4 separate regions of the Homo sapiens genome follow, and regions 1, 2 and 4 are each linked to region 3. The links are contacts of gene promoters, found by promoter capture Hi-C in human tissues and cell types (Jung and others, 2019). All regions are on one chromosome and are shown on one strand. Each heading gives the region's core, a stretch centred on a gene start or on the middle of the fragment in contact. The rest is flanking DNA. Distances are from core to core; before and after follow the strand shown.

Region 1 (6,417 bases), core at 2,742-5,241, 290 kb before region 3:
TAAACTTTAATTTTTCATAGATATACTCTGGGAATGACTTAGTATCATAAGATGCTTGAGTAAAGTGAACTGGAGAAGCTATATGACGTTAGATTCCTGTTTTTGTTCAGTGGGTTTGAGAAGCTAGCTGTCAGCTGTCACTATCATTCCTCTGTTGTGTTTGCCTTTTCTCTCTGGCCACCATTCCTTTCTTCTCTTTGCATTTGGCCTTCTTTAGTTTAACTACAGCGTATCTAGGTATGCTTTGAGTATTCTTACTTATATATTGCTTTGAGTATTCTGCTTTTTTTTGTTTTTTTTTTGTTGTTGTTGTTTGTTTTTTGTTTAACAGACATGGATCCACTCTGTCACCCAGGCTGGAGTGCAGTGGTACAATCACAGCTCACTGCAGCCTTGAAATCCTGGATACAAGTGATCTTCCTTCATCAGCCTCCTAAGTAGCTGGGACTACAGGTGCACACCACCACGCCCAGCTAACTTTTGTTATTTTTTTATTTGTTAGAGACGAATTCTGTTGCCTAGGCTGGTCTCAAAGTCCTGGGCTCAAGCAGTCCTCCTGCCTCAGCCTCCCAAATTGCTGGGATTACATATATGAGCTGCTGTGCCCAACTGTATCTACAGATTTATAACGTGCATTAATTGTGGAAAATTCTGAATCATTATTTTTTCAAATATAATCATCTTTTGTTCATCTTCTATTTCTGTATAATTTCTCACAGCTTAAAAAATTCTATATCTGATCATCTTAGTAACTAAAGTCTTGAAAATATTAATTAGTCGTTGCTGTCTCTGTGAGCTCATGTTTGATTGATCTTCATCTGTGGGAAGCCTGGAGGCCTGGCAGGGGTTGCTCTCCTCCGGAGATCATTTACATTTACTTCCACCAGGTGTTGGGGCCACTTTCAAAGGCTTCCTTCAAGGATCTCAGGTTAACGTTGAAGCCTTTGTTGAGCTCCCAGCTTTCGTTTGGCCCAAGTAAGTGTTGAAACTGGCATTTGTCCTCGGAGTCCCTCCTTTCAGGCTTGCTTAATGGTCCCCACACTCCCTGTGGATTAAACTCACTTTGGGGGAAGAAAGGTGTCTTGGAGATTGCCTCTACTGTCTGTGAACCCAGCAATGTGATTAAAAAAAACAAATAGCTCTATCAAGCAGCTCATTCTTTTGTTGTTTGCTTGTTTTGTTTTTGTAACTGAGAATCCTTCAGCGTACCTGCCTTCTATCCTACTGGAAGCATAAATCTTTGACATGGTTTTTATTGCTAGCAACAAGGAAAGTCAACATGCAAAAATAGTTAACGAAGAGAAAGTTCAGGTTTTTCAAAATTGTGTCCAAAGCTGTCCCTTTCATTCACTGGAACTTGATCTTACCCTTTGTCCTTTGGAAACACATCTTTGCTTTTGTTCTTGACTCATGTCCAACCCACCTCCTTCTCTTGTAGTCCTGGGACCACGTGTCTTCTTCCTTCCCTGAATGGAGGTTCTTCTTTTGGTAAATTCATGCCCCACCCCAATCTTTATTTTTAAACTTAGTTCCTGTAAGGGAAGTAAAGAGCACACAGATGAGTTCAATATATAAATCACGTCCATTAATCCAACAAATATTTACGTGAAAAATTTAAAAGCTTTCTTTCTCAGATAACATTTTCTTTACAGAAGGAAGTTGTCCTGGACATGTGACCAAAGGGTCTGTGGGATGAGGTTGTGGAGGGAAGGTAGGGAGAGTGGATGGGCAAGAAGCAGGGACAGGTGGCATGAGGATTGACTCTCCCTCACCACTGCCGTCCGGTGGCCACCATGGACCCAGCATCAGACAGACATAAGAAGTGGGAATGAGGAAGGCAGGAAGAGAGATTATGATGGCAGAGGGAAGGAGGGTGGGTTGGTGGGTGGGAAGAGAAGTTCCTGTGTCCACCATGTTTTTTTTCCCAAGGTACACATTCAAGTCAAGTCCTCCTCACCTGGATAGTAATAACCCATGCTATTTATTTTATATTTTTCCAGATCAATGAACTGAGCCATGTTCAAATCCCTGTTATGTTGATGCCAGATGACTTCAAAGCCTATTCAAAAATAAAGGTGGACAATCACCTTTTTAACAAGTAAGTACAAGTATGACCTTTCATAAGACTAGCGTGGCTGCTAGGAGTACAAGTTTTGTGAATTTTTGTAATCACATAATTTGTCAATGGGTGGGAGTAAAGTTTTGCTGATGAAGTTAATCCTGTGATAAACATAACCATCTGTCATTTTTAGAGAAGCAACAGCAGGCTCTCTGGGATAATATCCTTTGCCATATGGCATATTGTTCTCTATGAATATCTTATACGTTGAAAGTGATATTCTCATTATAATTCAAATTTTTGAAGCTGTAAATTGCTTGGATTTTTGAGCAGTTATGAACCTCTGCTCTTGTACACAGAACTTTGAAAATGATGATTTATGAACAGCAATGACTCCATCTTAGAACAATAAAGACCCAAGGTACATTTTCATAAGGCACAATTAGATGCCATGTTGGGCATTGATAACATTCCTCCTTCATTTGAATGTTGTTTTAGACGTCATTATGAAGCACCTATTATATGTTAGGTGGTCCATTGAGAGCTAGAGATGCAATGATATAGAAGACACGGCCCTGCCCTCAAGGGGCTCAGAGTACAAAAACTGACACATATACAAACTGCTATAGTTCAGTGTGCAAAGTATGATAAGGGAGGGGTGTGTGCATATGTATAATTTAATTTATCTGGTTGTGTGGGAACACAAAGAGGGAAACAATTCTGAATGATTAGGGTGAACCTCAAATCACTCCCATGTGAGGATCATTATGAAATTTTTTTTTGAGACAGGATCTTGCTCTGTTGCTCAGGCTGGTGTGCAGTGGTGAAATTATATCTCACTGCAGTCTCAAATTCCTGGGGTCAAGCAATCCCCCTTCCTGAGCCTTCTGAATAGCTGGGACTACGGGTGCAGGTTACCATGCCCAGCTGATTTTTTAAAAAACTTTTTGTAAAGACAGGGGTCTCACTATGTTCCCCAGGCTGGCCTCAAACTCCTGGCCTCAAGAAATCCTCCCACCTCAGTCTCCCAAAGTGCTGGGATTACAAATGAGTGGTGTAAGCCACCATGCCAGGCCAATTATGAAATTTCTTCAGGGGGCCATTGTCCTTATGTGAAGCTGATGTTAATTTTTCTCATAACAGTGTTTAGAAGCTGACTTTCAGGGAATTTCCTCTAAGCAAATTTAGAATGTGGCATTTATATAAAACAGGCCTTTTAGGGGGGTGAGGGAGTGGCCCTCCTTTCCTCAGCAGTAGCTGAGAGGGAACCTTGCTCCGCTGCCTCTTCCTAACTCACTCTCCCGCCATTGTGCTTTTCCCTCACTGCTCCCCCTGCCTGGCCCGTTCCTTCCCCACCTCTTGTTCTTTGAGGAATGGCTGCAGTGTGTGGCCAGGATTTAAAGAGGTCACATAGTCCAAGCGTGCCTGTGACAAAGGAGACAGACAGACATCCGTCTGGCCCCCTGTGTCTCCTGGATCTTTCTGCGGGTTGTACCTGGTTCTAGGAAGCACACCTGTGCTTTTGGTAGGCAGTGAACTCTGAACCCTTCTTTGGCTACCTGTGGAACTCAGTGGTGGCAGATGCAAGTCTGATTGACTCTCTCTGAGCTTTATTCCACGCTGTGACTGTTTCAGAGAAAACATGCCGAGCCATTTCAAGTTTAAGGAATACTGCCCGATGGTCTTCCGTAACCTGCGGGAGAGGTTTGGAATTGATGATCAAGATTTCCAGGTGAGTTGCGTTTGTAACATTTGCTTCCAGTAGGAAATGGGTTTTGCCATGACTTTTGCTGTGTCAATTGGGATCTGTATTTTTGTCAATAAAAGTATTATATAATAGTAATTTTCATTTTGTGTAAGAAGTTTTTAATGTTCATGCTGAAGTAAAGTGTTCTCTTGATTGGGGACCTCTATACATATGATACCGGTATAAAAGTCAGTAGGAAAATATATTACTTTTCTTTGGAAGGAGACTGAGCATGTGAGGGTTTTATATAATACTCTCATTTCCAGGTGGAAATTAACAGGCTAGCAGAGCTGCCTGTTAATTTCTGCTGTCAGACATGTCAGTAGCCTGTGTGAGTGTGCATGTTTTGTATCTTCGTAGAGGCTACTTAGGACTCTCAGGAATCTTTATCTTGCTGATTTGCTGCTTTTCAAGTTGGTCAGACTCTTGCTGCAGCATTTTTGTCAAAGGGCACCCTTTGTGCACTGCAGTGCTGGACTGTGGAGTGACCATAGCACTGTGGTCAGCACCAGGAACCCAACATCCTGGGCGTGTCCTGTGGTACATCTTCCTCTTCATCTTGATTCCCACCACGTAAAAATGTGCACTGCTGCTCTCCTCCCCACACTGGCCTGGTCCTTCATTCTAACTTTTAAACATCTGTTTTAACTCTTTAAATAACTGTTGAGCCATGATCATTTTTTTCTGAGAAAGGATTTGACATTGGTTACCCAAGTTTCATATAGCGAGCCAGATTCGTAAATGCTAAGGATTTTTTTTAAAAGTGGAAATCCAAGGGACAGGTTGAGTATCCCAATCAGAAAATCTGAAATCCAAAATGCTTCCAAATCGAATATTTTCTGATCATCAACGTGATGCCACAAGTGGAAAATTCCACAGTTAAGTGCTCAACACAGCCTTTGTTTCATGTACACAATTATTTAAAATATTGTATAAAATTACCTTTAGGCTATGTGTATAAGGTGTATATGAAATAGATAAATTTCGTGTTTAGACTTGGGTCCCATCCCCAAGATATCTCATTATCTTTGCAAATATTCTGAAATCTGAAAAAATCTGAAATACGACTGGCTGCAGGCATTTCAAATAAAGGATGCTCAGCATATACTGACTTAAGTCCCTTCAAATCTAGTCCTAATCTGCCCTCAATTTAAGATCTGAATTTATCCTGCATTAAGTGACATATTGCCACCCTGGGTGACTACAGATTGAGTACTGATACAGCTTACCCTGTATTTTCCTCTGAAGAATAGGGTCCCTCAGGCAAACTGAGATAGTTAGCACACTTTCCTAAAGATCTGTGCTCCCACTGCCCTCTCTGTACCATTGCCAAAAATTTCCAGGAATTTTTCATATGTTTACTCAGGCATGAGAGAGGCTGCCATGTTTGGAGAAAGCAGCGCTGACCAGGCTGCCGGTGACATTGTCTCATGATGGCCTGGGGTTGTGGTTTACATGGAGGTCCAGACCCTGAGCTGAGGCTCTGTGTACACAGAAGAGCTGAGGGCTGGCTAGTGGGACAGGAAGGATGTGGTTGCTCATCTGCTATTAAAACTGCGTGGGAGCCAACACTCCTGTTAGGGCGTTTCTTTTTTTTTCTTGATACAAGGTCTTGCTCTGTTGCCCAGGCTGGAGTACAGTGGTGTGATCATAGCTCACTGCAGCCTCAAACTGCTGGGCTCAAGTGATCCTCCGACCTCAGCGTCCAGAGTAGCTAGGACTACAGGTGTGCACCACCATGCCCAGCTAATTTTTTTTTTTTTTTTGGTAGAGATTGGGGTCTCACTATGTTACCCAGGCTGGTCTCAAACTCCTGGCCTCAAGCCGTCCTCCCAGAGCATGAGCCAGTGCACCTGGCCTTGGGGCTTAATTTTTAAGAGAGAACTTAGATCACAATTATGGACTTGAAATTTACTGCTGTAAAAATAATTAACTTTAACAGAAAATTATTAGAATAGTAAAAAGCATTTCTCTGAAGTTAAAATTAATAATTCTGTATCACTTTAGAACCATTACTAAATTTAAAGAGGCCACCTGAAAATGAACTAGGTGCTTTTTTTTTTTTTTTAAAGGAATTAACAGCAGATAGCTTCAGTGTCTTAAGAAAATCTCCTCTGCCTTAAGAAAAGCTGAACACCAGTGTGTTCCTCCTTCTCTCCACGTCCTTTTTTTGTTTGGCTGGGTTTTGTTTTAATAAAACAATTCCACTGGCATTTCACAGAAACTGACTTTTGAGGGCCCATGCATCTATCTTATCTTGTTAGATTCCTCAATTCATTATTGAAATGAAGTCTTTCTATTTCTTGTCATAATCAATTCTGTCAAATGAGATCCAAAATGAACCCATTATGGTCTGAGTTCTGCACTGCAGCAGAGAAAAGTAGTTTTTAAAATTTCCTCAAATGACCAATTTAGTTGCTGAAATGCAAAGACATGAACTGGTTTTCCTTCCCTTTTTTTCGCCCTACAAAGAAAACTACGTAAGTTGATATTGAAGTCAGTACAAATTGCTGAGTACAAACTTTGAAAGAAAATTAGGCAAGTGGAGGATGATTCACAAGTAACTAATTGGCAAGTCCGTTAAACTCTTCACATGAGAGCTCCCTGTTGG
Region 2 (5,805 bases), core at 1,460-3,959, 450 kb before region 3:
CCTCCCCCCTCCCCATCCCCCGACAGGCCCCAGTGTGTGTTGTTCCCCTCCCTACGACAGTGTGGTCTCCTTGTTCAGCTCCCACTTATAAGTGAGAACATGCGGTGTTTGGTTTTCTGTTCTTGCGTAAGTTTGCTGAGGATAATGGCTTCCAGTTTCATCCATGTCCCTGCAAAGAACAAGATCTCATTCCTTTTTATGGCTGTGTAGTATTCCATTGTGTATATTTACCACATTTTCTTTATCCAGTCTATCACTGGTGGGCATTTGGGTTGATTCCATGCCCTTGTTATTGTGAATAGTGCTGCAATGAACATACGCATGCATGTATCTTTGTAATAGAATGATTTATATTCCTTATATACCCAGTAATGGGATTGCTGGGTCAAATGGTATTTCTGGTTCTAGATCTTTGATGAATCACCACATCATTTTCCACAATGGCTGAACTAATTTACATTGCCACCAACAGTGTAAAAGCGTTCCTATTTCTCTGCAACCTTGCCAGCATCTGTTGTTTCTTGACTTTTTAATAATGGCCATTCTGAGCTTTTTTTTCATATGTTTGTTGGCTGCATAAATGTCTTCTTTTCAGAAATGTCTGTTCATGTCCTTTGCCCACTTTTTTTTTTTTTTTTTTTTTTTGAGACGGAGTCTCGCTGTCGCCCAGGCTGGAGTGCAGTGGCGCAGTCTCGGCTCACTGCAAGCTCCGCCTCCCGGGTTCACGCCATTCTCCTGCCTCAGCCTCCTGAGTAGCTGGGACTACAGGCGCCCGCCACCACGCCCGGCTAATTTTTTTGTATTTTTAGTAGAGACGGGGTTTCACTGTGTTAGCCAGGACGGTTTCGATCTCCTGACCTCGTGATCTGCCCGCCTCGGCCTCCCAAAGTGCTGGGATTACAGGCGTGAGCCACCGTGCCCGGTCCACGTTTGCCCTTTTTAATGGGTTTTTTTTTTTTTCTTGTAAATTTGTTTGAGTTCCTTGTAGTGAATCTAAATATTTTTAAAGGAAATTTTTAATAAGTCCCCACCCCCAACCAAGAAAAAGAAGCTATGTCTATATGGTCACCAAGGATGTCGAGGTTCTCAATCAAACACTTCTCTGTCTTCATGTAATTTCTCAGTTGTGATAGAAATTTCTGACCCCTCTCTCCCTCTGAAAATAATTCTTTCCCTCGGCTTTCCTCACCTCTCTGTTTTCTGTGTCTCTTTCTATATTGCAGGTTGCTTCCTCTCAGTCTCCTTGATTCTTCTTTTTCTGCCTACCCTTAAATTTTCCTTCTGCCCCACTCTCTGACTCCCAGTCCAATCCTTAGCATTCTTTTCTCTTTCTACAGTTTTCCTAGGGAGACTCATTCACCCACAATTATTTTTTTTCCAGCACAGATCTTTCTGTTGAGTTCAACATTCATATAATCATGTTCCCTCACAACCCCAGGTTTTAGATGTAGACCTGTATTATAGCACTTCTCTTTCATCTTTCTATTCTTAGCACTTGGCACAGAGTAAGTGCTCAATAAATATTTTTATAAGAGAATCTAGGTAAACCAGACTAGAGGATGTTTTGGCAAGTCAGGCCAAACAGATGATGCTATAAACTATAAAACCTTCTACAGAAGGAACTGGACTCAAAAAACAGAATAGGTTAGCCTTGAAGACCAATAAGATACGGTTATGGGGGCAAGACTCAAATATAACTCTTAGGCATCTGTCAAATGCCACTGGGTATAATGTGTGCAAAGAGAAAAGGTTGGCCTTTTCCTTTGGTTAATTTACCAGGTAATTGCCAACATTTTCTTTTCTTTTGCTTTGTGCTGCATGGAAACATTCTGCCATGCAAAATAGAACCAAGGGAGGAGGATGTTCTCCATATGCCATTATTTAACTCTGCCATTTTACCAGCCTATAAGCTCCATGGGAACAGAAGCCCTGTTTCTTTTGTTCTAGTGCCTAGCCTATATTTTGGGCACACAACGAATAAGGATTATCTTTAATTGAATACCTTCTTCTGTACCATATGCTTTGTGTATATTTTCTCCTTTAATACTCACCAAAAAAGAGGGTCATTTTAGGGCTGAGGATGCCAATGCTTAGAAAGGTTAAGTGGCTTGCTCAAGTTTGGGGTACAAATAGCTAAGTCAGTAGTTAAACCTAGATTGCTCTGATCCAAAGGCTTCCCTTTAATAAAATACTATATGATCTTCCTATATGTGGTTAAAATTTCCAGGAAAGCTGGCTTCTGTAGCACATGCCTGTAGTCCCTGCTACTCAGGAGGCTGAGCTGGGAGGATTGCTCGGCTCAGGATTTCTAGGCTAGACTGGGCAACATAGCAAGACCCTATCTCTAAAAGAAATAAATAAATGTATATTTTAAAATTCTGATGATAGAATGAAAGAACACAAGAATATTCACATTTGGGGATATATTTTGATGTGTTTCATTGAAAGGTGTTTTTCCTTCATGAACTGTTATATGTATAAATATTACCATTTAAAATGAAATGCTTTTATGTCTAAGGTCTTTAAGCTCTTAATCAAATTATTGAAATGTTATTTGACATTTTAAAAAATACATAGATGGAGTAGATTCTTCATAATTTTATGTGTGTTACTGTTTCCTATGGTTTGAATATTTTCCCCAAATTTCATGTGCTGGAATCTTAGTCCTCAAATTCATATGTTGGTGGTATTTGGAGGCGAGGCCTTTGGGAGGTAATTAGGATTAGATAAGGTCACCGTGAATCCCTCATGATGGGACTGATGTCTTTATAAGGAGACGAAGAGAGACCTGAGCTAAGATGCTTGCTCTGTCTCACCATGTAATGCCCTCTGCCACATTATGATGCAGCAGGAAGGCCCTCACGAGATGCAGCTGCTTGATCTTGGACTTCCCAGCCTCCAGAACTGTAAGAAATACATTTCTTTTTTAAAAATAAATTACACAGTCTGTGGTATTCTGTTACAGCAATGCAAAATGGACTAAGACACTATTGTTGTTATTGTTACTGTTGCTTCTTAGGGAAAAGAGATTGTTGGTTATGAACAAAACTGCTACTTCCTTTCTTGGTGAGACTCTAGAAGTAAAATAACTTTCTATATGTGTCCTAAATCAGGAGGCCTCAGAGTAGAGAAAATTTGGAGGGGCTTTCTGCAACTGAAAAAGAAAAGAGAAATGAAGACAGGCACCCGGTAGAAAATTTTAAGATTCTGAAAACACAACAGGAGAAAATTGAGGATAGGGAAGAAGAGGTGAGAAAGAGATGCCATACAGCGGAAGTGTAGCTAGCAGTGACCGAGAAGGAGGTGAGAAGGGACTACTCATTCTCCAGGAGTGTGTTCTCAGAAGCAGTGCTGCCTTCTTGGCAAACCTTAAGTTAATGAATTGTCTTGACAGTTAAGAATATGATGAGAAGGTATTAAAGGCAGAGGTGAAACAGCAAGCCTGACCATGAGAAGAGAGTCCAAAAGTCCAAACTCTTTGCATGCTTGTTCCTCTGTCAACCAATGGCCCAGATTCTACTCCCAGTCCACTCTGGACCAGCCCAGACTTGACTTCATCTTATACACACACACACACACACACACACACAGCCCCAAGGCATTGCTGAGTGAAACCCCAGCCACAGCAGCCACATCAGTCCCCCAGACAATGGCCAAGAAGCCAATGGAAAAATTTAGTGCCCTCCTATTGGCTCTTTATGTTTCTTACATATGCTGGGAGACAAACTAGAAAAATGAGAAGAATAATGTCTAAGAAAGAGGACACAAGAGAAAAAAATTATATCCTAATAGAGTGAAATTGGACAGCCTTCTAGGCTGTTTCCTTTTTAAACAATCTCCTCTTCTTAAAAAAAAAAAAAGTTGTTTAATGTCCCAGAAAGCTTTTTGAGAAAAGCAGTTTGTCCCCTTTTTCTAAGCCAAAGGCCAAAAATAGGAACTATTTGGCGATCTCTTCTGAGGCAGATCCGGGTATGCCTAGCCTGAGAAAATCCTCCTTGACCATTAACTCAGGGAGCTGTCATGAAGGAATTCTGGGAATCATGATATGCATTTATACACAGAATGTCTAAATGGGAAACAAAGCTTGACCTGGTTTTCTCAGAGCCAGACCACTCTTCTTTTTTCTCTTTTCCCTTAATAGATGACAGGGAGGAAACAGCTTCAAACCACCACTACCTTCCAAATTCCCCATCAACTTGGGTCACCAAAAGGAAGATGGCCAGGTACCTGATAGAATCTGATTTTACAGTATTTTGCCTCTGCTACAGTAGAAACGCCTTCCTTACTCAAAGGACACATTAATTAATAATAGGTAACATTTACTGACTGCTTCCAATGTGCCTGGCACATCTGCTAAGCACTTTACATGCTATCTTCTTTATCTTCACAATAACTCTACAGGGAAGTACTGTGATGATTCTCATTTTACGAATGGCTAAGTTGAGGCTTAGAAAAGTTGGATAATGTGGTTACAGTTAGGAGAAGAAAAAGCTCAATATTAAACCCAGGCAATGGGACTGGAGCCAACACTCTTGACTACCTGGCTCTAAAGTTACAACTCAGTTATGGAGACAGAACAGAAGCCTACAAATATTTAACAACACTTTAACTTTTCTCCCATCTGTTTGCAAATAAAAATAATATTTAGCAATACAATTAGCATATCCTTTATGCCAAATAAATGGAATGAACCACTACTTCTATGGAACACAGGAAAAGGATGCTTTCGGCACAGCAGAGCCTAGGATGCAGGACCTAGGGAGGACTGGCTCTTCAAACAGCAGATTTTATTGGTATTTCCACCATTGGCCTCCGCTGAGAAACAGTATTAAAAACATCTTTGGAAGATTAAAAAGGAAGTAATTTTTTTCAAACACTTCAAGTTGTGATCTACTTGCAAAGCCAGCTATATCAACAAGCGATTGATCCCTGGAAATATATGCAAAGGAGCCCCCTAGTTTGTCTCTGATCCCCTTCCTTCCTACCTCCTAGAGGGACAGGTTCTTTGATTTTAAGGCAACTTCCACTGAGGCCAGGAGTTAGCTGCCTGGGCTGTCAGTTTCTAGCAAAGGGCAGCCCAGAATAAATTTGACTCTTTATGTATCCTAATCTGGAACAGAAAGAGGCAAAGTTCTCCCTGTCTCCTCCCAACTTCACACGCACTTAAAATTGGCATTCCCCCTCTGCAGTTTTTGGCAGACCTTTCAGGAAATATTAAGTTAGACTGAAAATTCAGAGGTCCTCGTAACTGTCTGGGCTACTTTAAAATCTGGCATGTTATGAACACAACCTAAAAGTTGTTAAACATTGTTTCTATTTATTTTAGCAAGATAGCGGCTACCTAGAATCAGAATTGAGAACAATAATAAGCTTTCAAAAAATAATATATTTTTACAGGAGCTAAAATGTCTTACTTGATAGATATATTTAATAGCTACAAAACACCTCGCTCCACACTCATATTGACTTCAAAGAAGGGTCGAAATATTAAAATATGTTATTGCCTCTTTCTTGGCCTCCCACACAGAATGTAGGACTTGACTACAGCACTGTTGGCCAAGACAAAAGACTTCTGTACCACCTAACATAGCAACTGCAATGGTCTAGGCTGCAAATATGTTCTTCCTCTTTGGGTGCCCATTTAGCCTGTCTTCAGAGGTCAGATTTGGAACAAAAGAAAAGGAAGTGAGAGAACAATTTCATCTTCAGATGTAGCAAACAGTGTGTAACCGAAATGGGAATTTCAGGGGAGGTCTCATGTTTGACACAATATAGCGCCTTTTTCTTTTTTGGCCCTCAGTTACC
Region 3 (6,226 bases), core at 2,211-4,710:
CACACCTTCCAAACAAGTTTAAAATTCAACAAGATTTTAACTTTTGACAAACTACTATCGGGCAAAAAAAGCGTTTCCTCGGAAATACCTCATGTTCAAATCGGTTATTTGCCCTCACACTGAAACATGATTTCTAACCGGATCCTTAACCGCCCAGATACATCTGAATTTTCTCAAGTTATCTAACAAAGGTTATGCTGTATACACATTTTCTGAAAGTTGAAAGTTTGATTCATAGTTACATTAAAACGACTCTGCAGAAGATGCCTTTGAAAAATTCAATTTCACTTAAATTTCCAGTAATGAGCTTCATTTTTTAAAAACTATGAAATAAATTCGTTGTCATATCCACTAATAAATGTAGTTTTGAATTTTCCCAGTCTTAAATGGGCAATATAAACAGTTTTAGAATGTTATGTATACTTCCCCCTTTATAAAGTCATTTAAAAAGTTTCAAAATCCAATTTTGACAGTTTAATTCAATTTCTGAAAGCAAAGACATTTTCAAAGCCATGCTCTTAATTTTGTTTATCTTATTGGACCAAACTCATCATGAATAGAAGAAATTTACACTAAACACTACAGAAGTTTATTTCAATCAGCAAGAACAGCAAATACAGACCAATTCTCTATTAATAACATCTTAATTTCAAGTGAAGCCTATCTTAAAATACTACTTTTGATGCCCCTTTCCCATTAAATCCTTAACCAATCTTCATTATCTGCTGACAAATGGTTAGATTAATTTTCTTTTGAACTTCCCAAGAGTATAACTCTCAAGTAAACATTTATAAAAAGACAGGAATATTTATAGATCCTAATACTGTACCTGTAATTGTTCCATGCTGCAACTAAAACTAATCTCTGGATAGGATGGGGAATCAGTGTTCTAGGGCAGGAAAAAAAACACGCAACAAGAAACGCTGTTTATTTAAATCAATGAAATTATAAATTTCATTATTGGATAAGACTTATCTATAAATACCTGTACACTTAAGGTCACCAAATATGCAGGTCTGTACATCCTATGAAGTTGATTGGTCTAAAATAACACAACAAACACGCAACAGCTTTTAACTCTAGGTTTTAAGAAGTTCCCTAAATCCCCCGCTAGAGAAGTTTCTTAAACTTTACCTTTATCTGATATTCCAAGCGCCAAGAAACATCCGTTATATGAGGGAGAGATCTGCCTATACTGAAAGATGCAATGATAACTTCGTACATAGTCTCCTCAGAAGAACTTTTCAGTTATTTATATTTACTAAGAATGGCTCTACTTTCCACCCCCAACTCCATTTTAATCCATTCTGAATTTAAACCATTGTTAAACTTTATTTTTAAATTATGAATGGTAAAGGAGCATTTCAAAATCATCTCAATAAACGATCTTTAAAAACATGAGCTTAACTTCAATTGCTTGACATGCCCTTTGGCTCCTTTTCTTTGGGTCAAGATCCCGAAGATCTTGTTTCACACCAACACTCTCCATTCATACCTGCAAGTGAAAAGTGCCTCAGCTTGACACCTTATACAGTACCTACCTTCCCAGTAGGATTTCTAGGGAATTCTTATTATTCTGGAGAGAAAAAAGAAAGCAAGAAAGAAAGAAAAAAAAACATCTTTACAAACAAAGTAAAAGAAAAATAGTACTGTTAATTAAAAATTTTAAAGTAAGTAACCTGATATTCCGTGCAAAACAGTTCTATTCGCTCTCTGTCAAATTTACAGTCTTCTAGATAAGTGCTAGAAGAAAGAAAAAAAAAGCCAAAGTTCTGTCTCCATTTTTAAAACTGAAATTGAAATCATTAAGGTAGTATTTGAAAATAAATGGATATTTAAATAAATCCTGTACCTTAGAGTTGACTTGTCAGCTCGGTGCTTTCCTGCCTCTAGTATGTAAGTTGCAGCTGCTGCATGACAATGTTTTAAAACCACTGGGTCGATATGTTTCAAGTCTGGATGATCTAAAATAAATTAACTTCCAGTGATGCCTATGATAATAAATTCTTTACAGTCATGTTCCAAAAAGGATATTTTAATTTGGGTTTAAAAACCCTTTAACAAGATTAAAAACATCAACTATAAGGACAGTCAATTATAAGTAAATGAGATGAGCAACAAGATCAAGTGAAAAACAATAAAAAGAACACAACAAGAACTCTACTATTACTAGCTTCAATTAACTTATTTTGCCTTAATATTTTTACTATTAAAAAATATTATAGCCCCCAAAGAAAATATAACAATGCAATGGTCATTCTAACACTGGAGTAAATTCAAAGGAAAAACAAGATAAATATTTTACATTGTGTCAATTTTAGAATAAACTTCCATCCTAAAAATGATGAGTTTAGGGTAACCGGCTCCATGAACAAATACATCAAGGGGGTAGAAGGTAGGGCATGAGTTCAGAATATAAGATACAAATTTCAAAATTATATTAGTACTTTCAGGGTTTGACAGTCATTTTTTTTTTGAGATTAACCCAGGTGGTGGTTACTATTTTCGTTTAAGAACTTCCACTTTCATACTTTTTGTACAAGTGTTTAGTTCATGAAACTACAGAAAAAAAACAAAAATTTGAATTGTTGGGATATTTATATTTAAGAAAATCATCTAAAAGCGATCGGTCTTAAAATATGTCTTCAATCCATACTGACACTGCACCTCCGCAGTCACTGACCGGATCGCTTAAAAGACACTCGCATCCTGGTAACTGGGGCGGAACAAAGTATTGTGCATCATAGTTTAAGGTTCTAGGCGTAGAACCTGTGTAAACATGCTGAACTAGAGCGCTGGAGTGATCATAGCAACTTGAGGTATGCTCTAAGTTGGCAAATGTCAACACTGTCTGACCTAGTAATTACTTCGGAAACAGACCCTTAAACCTTTGCTAGCCTAGCCCTGGAAGCTTGAATTGCAGGGAGCTCCCCAGATGAAGTCCAACTGTCAAAACAGCCGCAGCCTCAGACAAGGCTAAACACCTTAGATGTTTAGGCCACAAACAAGACTTGAACACCGGCTTTACAAAAGAACAAAGAGACTGGGAGGGAAACCGGGCCAGGAACGTGGAGTTGGCTCTATGCAGGTGCCAAGTGGGGCCAAAACAATGCTCAGAGTCTGCTCCGAGTCCTGGCAGAGCCACGTCCCCAACACTCCGTCCGGAGCGAAGGGCAAAGCCCGGAGACTTCCTCTTCCCGGGGCTTTCCCCTTCTCGCTCCGCCGGCTCCTCTTCTCCGAGCGCCCCTCCACCCCGGCGGATCCAGCTCCGAGCCGAGCCGAGCGGCTTACCTAACACGGCCTCGTCCGCCTGGGCGTCCAGCAGACTCTGGAATGCCGCCCGGAGGAGAAGCGTGAAGGCGTTGGAGTCGAAGGAGCGGGGATCCGCCAGCATCTGGAAGCCTTTCTGCACAGACTCCGAGAGCTCCATTGTGAGCGCGCCGTGACCTTCGACACGCACACCACGTGACACGCGCCGCGCGCTCAGCTGATGCGGCCGCGCGCGCACGCGGCTCGGGGCGGCTGGCGGCGGCGCGGGCTGCGGGGCCTCCCCGCCCGCCTCCGCGCCCGCGCGCGGGTCCCGCGCCCCCAGCCGCCGCCTACGGCCTCCCACCGTTTCCGTCCAGCTCTCGCTTGTCCAGCGCAGGCCGCGGGAGCTGCCGAGCCTTGGCGAGAAGGGCGGCCTCGGGCGTTTTGTGGACGCGCTCGGCGCTTTCTCCTTGGTTCGGCGCTTACCTCGGACGGCCACCAGCTCGGTTCCCTGAGAGACCCCGGGGAGACTGCGGACGGTGTCGGGATCCCGGCCCCCGCCTCCCGCAAACGGCGTCCTCCCCGCTCCTCGCTCTGCGCGAATCCTGCGGGAAGCTCCGATCTCAGGCAACTGGATTTTGCTTTTGTGGTTTTTTGTTTGTTTTGTTTGTTTTTTAGCTCACCAGCTTAACCTCGCAGCACTGCCCTTTTATGAGACTGTAAGACATCTAATTATGTGATTCTTGCTTATTTTTACTTTTTTTTTTTTGTCATTTCTGGAATACGGCAGTAGTGTCCTTCCTGCATGGGGGGTGTGTACACATGCACGCATACATAGAGTTCCTGTATGCACTGCACTCCAGCAATCGGATTAATAAATTATTCATGAACAGATTTGACAGGATTATTAACAATTTTATATGCCGCTGCAAATAAAGCCAACTGCCATACACATTTTGTGCTACTCACCACATCTATGGGTCCCGTTTTAGTTGCTCTATAGAATCTGCATAAATACGTTTTTATTAAACAGCTACCTTAGTAAAGTACAGTTAGGAATGGCAAGATCTTTATTAGAAGTGAGTTACTGTTTAGGATGCTCATACCTTTAAAGATTCAAATACTGTATAAAGTTTAACTTCCTCTCTATTTCTACGAAGTTGGTTTAGAGAACAAGAATGATTCTTTAAAAAACCCGTGAAGCAAAGTAGATTAGGTATTTTTAATCAAAAGCACTTGAAAAGTTAAAAAATGCAAGTTCTTGAAGGGTGGAGGGAAGGGATGCGGAACAACAAAGATGTTTTAGTCTTCAGGAGCGATTATTTGCAACATTAGACCCAAAGTGAAACATTATTTTCTTTTTCTAACTTAGATGTCTGTTTTAAAAATTTTTGATGGATACAGTTGACATTTACCTTGGCACCAATACATAAAGTGTACCTCATTTCACAACAGGATGCAAATGGAGTAAGCATCAGTAACAGATTGAGTAACTACTCAGCCCTCCTTTGAAAGCTTTAAAAGGCACGTGCAGTGGCTCCTCACTCGGTGAGAATATAGTAGCAGTGAAGGATTTAAAAGTCTCCCTAGAGTCTTTATGAAACAAGCACCTATTAATCATGTTCATCTTTTCTTCCCATCACTCATCTTCCTAATTTGTTTCTCATTAGTAGTAAAATGTCAGTTGAAAAACTTCATGATACCTGATTACATAGAGAATAGTCAGGACAGAGTTGTGTAAATGTTCAACAATATTAACAACACCCAAGCTTATTATGTTTATTACACATGTATTTTATGACCTAGTGTAACGTTGATTATTAATACTCTAATAGAATTTGAGTTGATAACTCTAATACTCAATTTAGTGTCAAAAAAGAGAGTATTAATCATGGACATAGATTTTAAAATATTATTTTAAAAGAAAAATAAACACAAGTGGTTGTCAATTTGTGGGCATGAAAGTTAGGAAATTCAGAAGGATTGTTTCCATAATAGCTGTCATATTACTTTGTTGCCCATGTATAAGTACTTTCTCTTAGAATGTTTCCTCCTCTTAGGCCTAAGTATATTCATGTGTTAGGCCTAAGTGATGGGCACATTTTAAGCTCACAAAAATTTTCACCATAATGTGTTCTAATGCTAGAAAAACGGAATTTTCCTACTACAGGTATATTTATTTAAACTTCCTTTGAAGGAGGCACAGGATCGAGTGTTTCAAACGTGTGTCTTTGACAAGTCATTGAAATACATGGAAGTATGATCATCAAAAGGCATGACTACCCAGATGTAGACTCTCTTGGTTACAGCCATAAAGATCAATGCATTTTATGTTAGAAAAACTACATATGAACATATTCTGAAAGTATGAAAATACTGTTTAAAATTTTGCTTTACTCAAAACAGCATTGGAACTTTGACTAAACTTTAAAAAATTCTGCATGCTCAAAGCCAGTAAACTAAATTTGGCTTCCCAAAAGCCTTTTAAAAGAACAATTATGTGCAGCTGAAAACAACAAAATACAGATGCAACCATCTTCACATTAACAATATATCTTGCCTCCTAAACTGCAAATATTAGGTAGACAATGCTGATAAATTTATTTTTCTTTTTGAGAATCTAGAAATCATTTGAAGAACTAGAAGTTACCTTTTTAAACAATGTTTTAGAGTTTCAAGTACATTTGATATCCTTTGAACTGGTTAATATTTTTAGAAACAAATTTAATATTGGTCCCTTTATTGTGATTACAATTAAATAGGCTAGGGCTTTTACCGGATCTATGTGGTCAGCTTTTCCCACAGGCCTCATTGCTGCATTTGTTAGTGTTATGAATTACAATATTTTCTTTTTCAGATTGTATAAGTACTTTTGCTTTTGTGCAAATAACGCTGAAGGAAGATATTCCTTTAGATTGAAGAGCTCATGGAACTCCATGGGGAGAAAAAATAATAAGTTTAAGTGCCATCGAGACAA
Region 4 (6,069 bases), core at 3,208-5,707, 270 kb after region 3:
CAATGCCTTATCATCTCTCTCTCCCACCAGATATGTATGTGTGTGTGTGTGGTGTGTATGCACTATCGGTTCTATTTCTCTGGAGATCCCTAACTAATACAATCCCCCTGGAAATAATTTTTGTATTACTATATGTATGGAAGATAAGAATTCAATATTACATTTGTACAATTGGAAAAAATCAAGTGTTTCATCACCACTCATTAAACAGTCCATTCTCGGCTCACTGGTCTGCAATGCTACCTCTGTCAAAATCAGTCCAGTGTAGGAAGAGTGTCTTAATTGATGCAGTTTTAAAATGAGTCTTGATATATGGTACAACAAGATCTCTAGTCGCTCCCGTTTTCTTCTGGTTATTTGGGGCCCTTTTCTCTTCTCTCATACAAATTTTATAATCTCCTTTTCGAGTCTACTAAAAGATGTGTCTTTTTTATTATAACTTTATTGTATTTTATTAATTGAGAGATAATTGACATTATTACTGAGTTTTCCTATTCCCAAATTTATTTAGGCCATAACATTCTTACACATCTGTTTTTAATATTTATTAATAAGTATATTTTTTGTATTTCGTTCAAAGATTCCATTTGTTGCCGGTATATAAAAATATCACTGATTTTTTTTTTAAAAAATAATTGACTTAAATAGAATAACCTTATTGAACTCACTTTTTAAGTCTAATAATTTGCCTGTTGATATTTCTTGGATTTTCTTTGTAGACATCTATGAATAATGTCAGGATTTGTTTGTTTGTTTTGTTTTACATTCTTTCCAATCTTTATACATTTTATTTATTTTTCTTGTCTTACCACAAAGGTTATTCCTGTCACCCAAGATGAAAGAGAAGCAATAATTGAAGCTATTCTTACCTCATACTTAATTTTAAAGGGAATTTTTCCTATGTCTTATCATTAAATATGATGTATGCTGTAGATTTTTTGCTATATACCTTTTAGTAGGTTAAGAATGTTTCTTTCTTCTGTACTAATTTACTGTCTTTTTAAATTTAAAATAATAGCTTTTATTTTATCAAATGCTTTTCCTGTGTCTATTGAGATAATATGGGTTTTTCACCTTTAATCTGTTAATATGGTACATTAATAAGTGTTATTTTTCTGCATCATTAACTTTTTTTTTACTGTTGAAAGATAATACCCTTAGAAAAAAGTGCATAGCTCCTATATGTATGATTTAAATAATAATTAGAAAACAAATACCTGAGCCAGATGTGGTGGCTCACCCCTGTAATCTCATCATTTTGGGAGGCTGATGCAGATAGATTGCCTGAACCTAAGTGTTTCAGATGAGGCTAGGCAATATAGTGAGACTCTATCTCTATTAAAACATAAAATAAAATAAAATAGGTAGGCACAGTGGCGTGTGCCTGTGGCCTGGCTATTTGGAAGGCTGAAGGGCTGAGGTGGGAGGATCACTTGAGCCTAGGACGTCAAGGCTGCAGTGAGCCATGATCACACCACGGCACTCCAATCTGGGTGACAGAGGGAGAGCCTGTCTCAGGAAAAAAAAAAAAAGGAAAACAAGCACCTGTGTAATTACTGGTCGGGTCAAGATTCAGAACAGTGTCTTAAGTTTAGAAGCTGCCTGTGAGCCATAACACCTGCCTCCTACTTCCATGTGCATCACTATCCTGACGCACGTGATGGCCAATTCCTTGCTTGTCTTTATGGTTTGCCACCTATGTATGAATCTGTAAACAACATAGTTTATTTTCACCTACTTTTGATTTCTTTTCATTTATGATTGTTGCATGAGGCTTTAGTTTGTTCATTTTCATTGCTTTTAAGGGCATTTTCTTTCATTCTTGTTTGCAAAATTTTTAAATAAATTACCAATGCATGCTGAATTTCATCAAACACTTTTGTATGTTTGCTGAGATGACCATATAAATTTTTCCTTTAATGTGGCGGAATTCATTAGTTGATTTTTCTCATGTCAAACCAGGTTTTCATTCCTGGAACAAATACAAGTTAGTTATTGTATATATTAGTTATCTATTGCTCCAAAACAAGTTACTCCAAAATGCAACAGCTTAAATAACAAGTATTTATTATCTCATGCAGCTTCTGTGGGTCAGGAATCCAGAAGGTCTCACGTAAGGTTTCAAGTCAAGATGTCAGCCATTGCTGCAGTTCCAAGCTCATCAACATGGCAGTTGGCAGGAGGCTTACACCTCATCATGTGGTCCTCTCAACAGGGCTGCTTATGACATGGCAATTGGTTTCCCCCAGAGTGAATGATCTGAGAGAGAAATTAATAAAGATAGAAGCCACCATGTCTTTAATAACCAAATCTCAGAAGTGACATACCATCATGTCTACTGTATTCTGTTGGTCACGTACCTAATAGAATGTGGGAGGGGATGACCCAGAGGTGGTGAACACTGGGGCCTATTTTAGAGACTGGCTACCACAGTCATATTGCTTTATACTTTTTATGTATTGCTAGATTCAGTTTGCTGATTTTTTTTACAATTTTTTATCTATATTCTTGAGTGACATTGACCTATAATTTTTCTCTCTTGCTATCAACTTTATGCTAACCTTATAAAATGAGACTAGCAGCATTATCTTTTTTTTACTCTCAGAGTTTGTGTATAATATGAGAATAGATCAGAATTATTTGTTCCTTGACTGCCAGAATTCAATGTGAAGCTATCGAAGCCTGAAATTTTCCTTAATTCAATACTTCAAATGTATTGAAAGGCCATTCTGATTTTAGCACCATTCTGTTTTTCTATTTCAATAGTTTGTGTAAATTGTGCTTTGCTAGAATATGTTCATTTCATCTGCATTTTCAAACTTACTGGCATAAAATTGTTCAAATGACTTTTTTTTTAATATTTCTGACTTTTTTAGTAACGTTCTCTTTTTCTTTTTTGATATTATTTATTTGTGTGTTTGTGCTATCACTCTTTTTTTTTTTTTTTTTGGTCTCACGAGAAGTTCGTTAATTTTATTAGGTGTTTTAGAGAATCACTCTGGCTTTATTGTCTCCATAGTGTATGGAAACTATTTAATTAGTTTCTGTTCTTATTTCTATCATGTCCTTCCTTCCACCTTCTTTGTTGCTTTGGGGTTTTGTTTTTGTTTGTTTGTTTGTTTTGCTATTCTTTTTCTATTTTCTTGAATTATTAATTTTTAATAATTAATTTTTAGCTTTTTTCTAATATATGCCTGTAATATACTTTTCCTTTAAATGTTGCTTTAGCTAAATCTCATAAGTTTTGTTAGGTAGTATTTTCATTATTGCTCAGTTCAAACTATTTTTTTAATACCACTGTAATTTCTTATTTAACCCTTGAGATACTTAGATGTGTATTTAATTAATTTCCAAACATATGAAGGTTTTCTTGATGTCTTTTTTTGGTACTGATGTTTAACTTGTATTTTGTTAAGAAATATGCTTATGATTATTTCATTTCTGTGACATTTGTTGACACCTGCTTTACAATCCAGTAAATGGTCAGTTTCTGTGAATGTGCTTATTACATGCAGTATTCAATATATGTTTATTAGATCAAGTTTATTAATCATGATGCTTAAATTATACATATTTTTAGGAATTATTTTCCCATTTGCTCTATCAATTACTGAGTGGCTATATTAAATGCCACATTATGAGTGTGGATTTGTCTATTTCTCTTCATCTGTCAATTGTTAAGGCTAAGTTATTAAGTGCATACAAATTTAAAATTACCAAAGCTACCAGTTGAAATGAACCTTTCATTATTATAAATTATTCCTGTTTATCTTGAGTAACAGAGTTTATCTTCGAGGCTCTTTATTCTAAAAGCAATTTGGTTATCTGGGCCCTCTAATTTTCCAATTATACTACAGGTGAATTCTCCCCTTCCTTCCTTATCAAGGCGCAAGTTGGCATCTTCCCTTCATAATAAGTTTCAGCTTATTATGTTACTTAGTAAAATCATGCTCATCTTTTTCTCCATTTCCCTAAATAATATTGAGCTCCACAGGCCTGATTTTTTGCTTTAAATTACAAGTAAAATTCCAGAGTTGGCTCTTAAAAAAGCAAATCTTCATAATTCACAAAAAGAATCTAAGAGACAGAGGAAGGAAATGTGCTTTCTCCTCTGCAGCTACAGAAGACTGACCGTCTTTGTGTCATAAAACAAGTCCAAAGAATCTGATTCGATGTGGCATTGAGACGTGTGAATATTTATAACTATACTCGCTAGTTCTGTTCTTTAGCCTTATAAATTTATCCTTGGAAGGAAAATATGAACAAAGGCTCTAGAAATCCTTGCCATTTCCTTAAAAGTAATCTCCAAAGAGCCCTGTGATTCTGATGAGTCGTCTTACTCAGTAGCCTGATGCTGTCTTCATGTCATGATTGACGTTTCTGTGTTCCTATATGTTATGAATACTCGTAAGATTGTTCTGTCAAAGCAGCAGAACATTGCTAGCATTTTTTTTCTACCCTCACCTGCATGATAAAAAGAATAAATGCGTGTAATTCTACTAGATGTCTTGTTTAACAGAGAGATTGATAGTCTTATCTCACTTGTGGCTGGGCTTGGGATAGTTCTGGGGTCTGTGTTCTGCCTGCACTAGAGTTTATTCCTCTAGATCGGGTGTACTTCTGTCTGTTCTGATACTTGAGGAAGGGGTGCTAGGGGAAGGGAAAGCCTCTATTTCCTGATTATGCCTCTAATTCAGGTGTTGCTAAACTTTGGCTACTGTCAGAAGCTGTTAGCCTTAAGGGAGTGTTTCCTGTCCACTCTTTATAACCAAAGCTTTTTTCCTCGCTAAGTAAGGGGAAAAGGAAAGGACAAAGGTAGGGCTTCTAGTTCAGGCTAAGGCACTATTTGTGTGGACAACGAAAGACTGGTTTCGTGTGGGACTTTCTATGCACCCAGTATGTTTCCAGCAGTTTTAATTGATTTTTTTCCCATTTTATTTTGTCAAGACTTTTCTTTTTAATGTTTAGGGATAGTTCATATTATACCTCAATTCTTCTCCTATCTTCCTCCCAGCAAGAGAAAAACAAACCGATGTGATTGGCACTGTGTGTGGATTTCGCTGAGTCACCACCACCCTGCCGTGAGGTGCGGATTTCCAGGGCAACTTTCTGTGTCTTTCCTTCTGGGCTGCCTATCCACACCCTGTCACCATCAGCTCTGCTCAACCCCAATGTGGAGGTGTTAACACAGAGGAGAATTTTGTCTCAACACCTTCCCCTTGCTTTTTTCTCTCTCTCACTCTTGCATATGCAAAATCTATCACAGGTCTAGTATTCCAGCACGTAGCAAGCATTCAATAAATCTTTGGTGAATGGGTGACTACAGAAATGATGAACACTATTTCTGAATAAGCAACTGAGGATTTGCCTATTAATTCCTACAACCCTCTGTGTCTGGCAACAGTTTTCCAAGTTCTTAGAGAAGTGTTTGCTCCTCTCTAGTTTGATAACTCTCTGTGTGTACATGCTATTTCTATATCTTATTCATTTATTGAGATGTGAGTGGGAGAAAAGTTCCATGATCTCATAATTTTTCTCTGGAAGTAAAATAATAAACATATACCTTTTATTATAATAAATTATAAAAGAAAATATGGATTGAAAATAATTTAGAACCTTTCTGGAGGGCAATTTGGCAGAATCTAGCCAACCTTTTTTTTGACCTAGTATTTTCACAGTAGGAATTTATCCAAAAGATATACAGGTGAAAAATGGCACAGGAATAGGGTAATTCATTGTAGTATTGTTTGTAATTGCAAAAGATCTGGAAAAAACCATGAATATCCATGAAAAGGAAATTTCTCAGATAAATCCTGATATATCTATACAACTGGATGATACACAGAAGTAAAAAAAAAAAGAGAGAGAGAGAGAGAGAAAGTCCTTTGTAGATTGATATGAAAAATCTCCAAGATTTATGGTTAAGTAAAAAATAATAAGTTGCACAACAGTGTGTATAGTATGCTATAGTTTCTGAAAAAAAGAAAAAGGGAAAACTACATGTATCTGTTTTTACATACACACATTAGCTCTGGAATGATTTGGAAAAATACATGAGAAATATACATT

What was found. The method cuts DNA at HindIII sites, captures the fragments that hold promoters and counts their contacts. A contact is called where the count stands out against the background at its distance.
Region 1: a contact is called between a fragment that was not itself captured here and the fragment with the promoter of COMMD3-BMI1 in region 3, in 2 of the 25 tissues and cell types used here (dorsolateral prefrontal cortex and hippocampus).
Region 2: a fragment that was not itself captured here is called in contact with the fragment with the promoter of COMMD3-BMI1 in region 3 in 2 of the 25 tissues and cell types used here (aorta and lymphoblastoid cells).
Region 4: a contact is called between a fragment that was not itself captured here and the fragment with the promoter of COMMD3-BMI1 in region 3, in 2 of the 25 tissues and cell types used here (heart right ventricle and mesendoderm cells).

The regions. Positions count from the first base shown.
Region 1 is chr10:22,605,301-22,611,717 of GRCh38, reverse strand. PIP4K2A (phosphatidylinositol-5-phosphate 4-kinase type 2 alpha) reads left to right here. Exons shown (of 10, transcript NM_005028.5): 2 at 2,001-2,098; 3 at 3,695-3,791. Among named protein-coding and RNA genes, the nearest start is that of PIP4K2A, 110 kb to the left of the region's middle. RefSeq lists an enhancer at 639-1,173. The HindIII fragment of the contact is 6,591 bases long and covers 696-6,417 here.
Region 2 is chr10:22,766,225-22,772,029 of GRCh38, reverse strand. No RefSeq gene overlaps it. Among named protein-coding and RNA genes, the nearest start is that of PIP4K2A, 55 kb to the right of the region's middle. The HindIII fragment of the contact is 4,037 bases long and covers 691-4,727 here.
Region 3 is chr10:22,313,622-22,319,847 of GRCh38, reverse strand. COMMD3-BMI1 (COMMD3-BMI1 readthrough) reads right to left here and starts at 3,460. Exons shown (of 14, transcript NM_001204062.2): 1 at 3,292-3,460; 2 at 1,853-1,964; 3 at 1,680-1,743; 4 at 1,542-1,576; 5 at 830-889. The coding sequence starts at 3,430. It overlaps COMMD3 (COMM domain containing 3), which reads right to left and starts at 3,460. Exons shown (of 8, transcript NM_012071.4): 1 at 3,292-3,460; 2 at 1,853-1,964; 3 at 1,680-1,743; 4 at 1,542-1,576; 5 at 1,135-1,195; 6 at 986-1,042; 7 at 830-889. The coding sequence starts at 3,430. RefSeq lists an enhancer at 2,913-3,212 and a silencer at 3,483-3,602. The HindIII fragment of the contact is 4,167 bases long and covers 1-3,838 here.
Region 4 is chr10:22,041,748-22,047,816 of GRCh38, reverse strand. No RefSeq gene overlaps it. Among named protein-coding and RNA genes, the nearest start is that of DNAJC1, 41 kb to the right of the region's middle. RefSeq lists an enhancer at 4,923-5,217. The HindIII fragment of the contact is 9,284 bases long and covers 1-6,069 here.